Linked DNA regions of Homo sapiens: region 2 is linked to region 1. Evidence: promoter capture Hi-C in 16 types of primary human blood cells and fetal thymus (Javierre and others, 2016). All regions are on one chromosome and are shown on one strand. The core of a region is centred on a gene start or on the middle of the fragment in contact, and the rest is flanking DNA. Distances in the headings are between cores, read along the strand shown.

What was found. Contacts are between HindIII fragments. The CHiCAGO score rates a contact against its expected background, and 5 or more counts as called.
Region 2: a fragment that was not itself captured here is called in contact with the fragment with the promoter of POMK in region 1 in 1 of 17 cell types (M2 macrophages); the score reaches 5.2 in M2 macrophages.

The regions. Positions count from the first base shown.
Region 1 is chr8:43,092,254-43,094,771 of GRCh38, reverse strand. It overlaps POMK (protein O-mannose kinase), which reads right to left and starts at 1,257. Exons shown (of 5, transcript NM_032237.5): 1 at 1,209-1,257. RefSeq lists a silencer at 1,020-1,229 and enhancers at 481-1,386, 1,387-2,293. The HindIII fragment of the contact is 4,326 bases long and covers 1-2,518 here.
Region 2 is chr8:43,195,611-43,198,128 of GRCh38, reverse strand. HGSNAT (heparan-alpha-glucosaminide N-acetyltransferase) reads right to left here. Exons shown (of 18, transcript NM_152419.3): 15 at 1,104-1,181; 16 at 387-457; 17 at 177-289. Among named protein-coding and RNA genes, the nearest start is that of HGSNAT, 56 kb to the right of the region's middle. The HindIII fragment of the contact is 1,164 bases long and covers 681-1,844 here.

The sequences.
Region 1 (2,518 bases), core at 8-2,507:
ACAGCTTAAAAAGAAAAGAAAAGCAAAGGGACAAAACTAGTTTTTACCGACTTACAAGATATTTTCTACAACTAGGGAAGACACAGAGTAATGTCATCCAATACAGTTTAGAGTAGAATTCCATTGCGCCAATAAAGCACAAGGTACATTAAGAGGATTATTTTAAATATTCTGAACGCTTATTTAGCCTTAAGGTTCTATAGCAAAGGCAAAGGGTGGCAAAGACAAGATTATGCAACAAAACAGCGAAATTTTGCTTTCTAAAAAAAAGAGAATATGATTACACTTAACACCTCCTGGCAACAATGATCTCGTGCAGAATAAACACCCAAAGGCAAAGAGCTGAGACAGAGTCCTCGGTCCTTTCTGGTTTTTTTGTTTTTTGTTTTGTTTTGGTTTGGTTTGGTTTTTGTTTTTTTAAACAGAGACAGCCTCTGCCGGACCCAGTAGCTCACGCCTGTAATCCCAGCACTTTGGGAGGCAGAGGCGGGCGGATCACCTGAGGTCAGGCGTTCGAGACCAGCCTGACCAACATGGGGAAACCCCGTTTCTACTAAAAATACAAAAATTAGCCGGGCGTGGTGGCGGACGCCTGTAATCCCAGGAGCCAAGACCGCGCCACTACACTCCAGCCTGGGCGACAGAGCGAGACTCCGTCTCAAATAATAATAATAATGATAAAGTAATAATAATAGAAACAGCCTCTCACTCTGGCCCCCAGGCTGAAGTGCAGTGGCGCGATTTCGGCTCACTGAAACCTCCGCCCCCGCCGGGTTCAAGCATTCTCCCGCCTCAGCCTCCGGAGTAGATAAGACTATAGGCGGCGCCACCGCGCCCGGCTAAGTGCTTTTTTACGGAGACAGAAGTTCCGCCATGTTGCCCAGGCTGCTCTCGCCTGAGCTCACGCGATCCTCCCGCCTCGGCCTCCCAAAGCGCTGGGATTACAGGCTGGAGCCACCTCGCCGGGCCCTTCTCTGGTTCTTTAACGTCCCGCTACCGCGCAGGGGTGGACGCGGAGATAGGGGCTGGGCGCGGTGGACACGGCCGCTCAGGCCCAGCGCAGCCTCCTAGGGAGCCTCCGGACAGGCCGCGGGCAGGCGGCCGGGGCTGCGGGGGGTGCGGCCCAGGCCACGTACAGGGTCCCCCGGGAAACCCAGCTGCACGCCCCCTCGCCCCTTCGCCCTCTCACCCCTCGCCGCAGCACCTACCTGCAGCCCAAGCCTCTGCGGCTCCTGCCACCCCGGGCCAGCACGCACTGGGCCTACTGCGCTTGCGCGTTCGGAAGCGCGTCCTGGGCGGGTGAGCGTGGCGCTGCTGCCCCCTGGCGTCCTCCTCCGGCCGTGCACTGAAGCCGGAGCGAACGCCGCGGCGGTACCAGCGCGCACCTACCCAGTCTCCCTGTCTGGCTTCTGCTTCCCTAACTTGGGAGAACGATTTTGTGTTGACCGACTATTGCTTCAGCCTGGAGCCAGGCTCATGCAGAGCAGCTGTCAGATCTAGACGCACTGCGAGGCCTTCCAAAGCGTAGTCCTCAGACCCGCGGCATCTGCAGGGACCTTGCTGGAAAGGCTGATTCCCAGCTCCGGCCCAGACCCGCCACTCGGGGACCCAGATGCCTGAAGTTGGACAATCGCTCTGTAAAAGAAACTGTGGGGCTTAGCCTAGACGCAGTAAAGCTGAGCTGCACACATCAAGCGCAGCAGACAAGACCTTGGCAAGCCTCCGCGGAGGGGCAGGACTGGGCAAAGGCGGGGAAGTCCGTCGAGGGCCGGCCAGGAGCCCTGCCGGGAGCCCAACACGCACTCGGGCGCTTGCTCCGGGAAACCGAAAGGGAGGCTTGCAGCATCGAAGTCAGCTGGGTCATGGAACGTCTAGGTTGTGTACATCGGAAGCGTTAGCTGCTTCTACACTGACACACTGCGAAAGTCCAGAATCAAGACAGTAACATGGTGTGGGTTAAAAAAACTGAGCCGGTACTAGCTATCCAAACAGTATTAAAATTAACAGAAACGTTTGCCTATCACATGGACAAACAGCGGTAATACCTCCTGTCGTTACAGTAGAGTCTGAAAGTTTCCTCACACATACAAGTGAGTGTAAATTGGAATTCCTCCTACGTGCCCTAGCAAATCCATTTCTAGGAATTTATCCTTCAGAAATAACGTCTGTGGCCGGGCGCCGTGGCTCATGCCTGTAATCCCAGGACTTTGGGAGGCCGAGGTGGGCGGATCACGAGGTCAGGAGACCGAGACCATCCTGGATAACACGGTGAAACCCCGTCTCTACTAAAAATACAAAAAATTAGCCGGGCATGGTGGCGGGCGTGAGAATGGCGTGAACCCGGGAGGCGGAGCTTGCAGTGAGCCGAGATCGCGCCACTGTACTCCAGCCTGGGTGACAGAGCGAGACTCCGTCTCAAAAAAAAAAAAAAAAAAAAAGAAAAAGAAATAATATGTCTGCAAGATGTATGCACAAGAGATCTTGCTGAAGCATTGCTGATAAAAGATATTTATAATAG
Region 2 (2,518 bases), core at 13-2,512, 100 kb before region 1:
ACATCTGGTGTGGGCTGGGACAATGTGGGCCCTGCTGCTTCCTCCCTCAGCCTGGCTTTTGGACACCTGCCGCTAGGGCAGTGGCTCAAGACCCCAGCACCAAGGATGCTCCAGAGGTCCCTGGGCCTGCCTCCTGGTCACCATCCCAGCTCTGTTTGAGGTTGGAGGTGACTTACCTGGATAAAAGAATGGGGTTCCTGTCCACAGCCCCTTCACATCCACAACTGGGTACAGGACCAGCAGGATGAAGAAGGCAAAAGAACTGAGCGTAGTGACATACGAAAGGGACCTGGGAGGGGTGGAGGAGACGTTTCAGTGCTCGTACGGAACAAATCCAATTTCAGCATGAACAGTCATCCATAAAATCATGCTTTTTCCATACATACCAGAGATTTTTGTTTACTGGAATAAAGCCTTCATTTTCAGAAACCTTCGTCAGAGCAACAGAAATGAGCCCCTGTAATGGGGAAGAGAAGGATGTTAACATTTTATATTATTATCTCAGAAAACACTTGGTTTCAACACCAATATATATTAGTTATTTAATCACGTAGAGAGGGCTGAAACTTGTGCCTTATATTTTTCTCTTTTAAATGGAAACATATTTTTTTAAATGTATGAACTGAAAAATACTCTCCCAAAATCTCTTCACCATTCTACTGAGTTGAAGAGGGTAAGCTTACTGATTAAATGACAGTGACTCTGAAGAGGAGGCATGGCTGCGGTCAGGATGAAATGAACAAACAGTCAACCTTGCAACTCTCTTTCCCATATAATCTGGAAGTTGATGTCTGCAACCTGGTCTGATTTGCCCAGTCTCTCTGATACGCCTCTCCACACAGAGCCCATACCTCACATTTCTTCAGGCATTCCTGGCTATCTGATGGCAAACACTGCCTTATTGATAAAGACATTTTCCTAAGAAAATAAATCTGTGCATTTAGGTGGAAAGATTTGTTCCTCTCTGTTATTCAAGTGAAGAAAATGGTACCTGCTGCCATGTGGTGACAATGGCTAGCTCAGTGTTGCTAAACATTTTATTCCTTTTAAATATCTATACATGTGAAGGAAAGGAATTTTAGCGAGGAATGCTGCTTACTTACAAGAATACAACACCAAGCAGTGAATCGAATCAGGATGTCTTTGGTCCGAGCCTTGTAATACAATAGTATTTTTCCTGCCTGGAGGAGATAACACAGTGTGACCAAAAGAATCGCCAAAGGGATATTTTTATTTCATATTAATCCACTGTCTTAACTACCTGACAAAGAGATTCACTTGCTGGGCACGCTACTAGGTGCTGGGATTACAGGGAGGCGGGAAACATCACCTCTGCCTTTGACTAGTGGAGACTAACAGAGGAGCATGGGACCAGAGATGAACGCCCTCTCTGGGGAGGAGGAGGCATCAGAGAGGACGAGCCACAGAGGTGAGGCCAGAGCACCAGAGGGTCCCCGCAGGAAGAGGCTCCTGAGCAGAATGGGGCAGCAGGCACAGAGCTCGGGGGAAGCATGGTAGCCACACCACATCTCCACTGCTGCAGGGAATGCAGAAGCCCAGGTCATGGGGAAAGGAGGAGAAGGGGCACCTGGGCAGGCTCCGTGGCTCTTACTTCCAGGCAGGGCCCAAAGAGAATTCTCCACAAAGGTGACAAGGGTTCCGTCAGACAGGCCTGTTTGGTGACCCAGTCTGGGCAGCACTAGGAAGAGGGACCGGGACAGGGTGGAACCAGAGGCAGGGTGGGGGAGGCAGGGAAACATTTAAAAACAGTGAAATATGGACTTCACATACAATCCCTCTGAAATTAGGTATTCATTTTTGAAAACATCAAAGGATGAGAAGCTTTAAAAATAATTTATAGTAATAGCTAATATTAATCAACATTTTTTATGTGCCAGTTCTTAGAACTTTACATGAATTAACTTATTCAATCCTTGCAACACCCTTCTGAAGTAGGTGCTGTTGAAGCACAAGAGGGAGTCAGCCACACGCCCGAGGTCACCCAGCTGGGAAGTGGCAGAGCTGGACACAAACCCAGGGAGCGTGGCTCCAGGTCTGCACTCCTAGCCTCCCCACTGGACTGACCGCTCCAGTGATCTACCTAGAAAGTGTATGTAGGGATTACATGAATATACGGAATATATGGAAAAGCACAATATCAACTAGAAAGTGCTACAGAGATAAAGGCCGTATTTCTAAATACAAAATTATTTCATCACCAAAATGTACAGCTGATCCTTGAACAACACAGGTTTGAACTGCGCAGGTCCACTTATATGCGGATTCTCTTCTGCCTCTGTTACCCCTGAGACAGCAAGACCGACCCCTACTCCTCTTCCACACCCTCCTCCTCCTCTTCTTCCTCTACCCCTCCTCCTCCTCTTCCTCCTCTTCCTCTACCCCCTCCTCCTCTTCCTCCTCCTCCTCCACACCCTCCTCCTCCTCATCCACACCCTCACCCTCCTCCTCCTCCAGCCCCTCCTCCTCCTCTTCCTCCACCCCATCCTCCTCCACACCC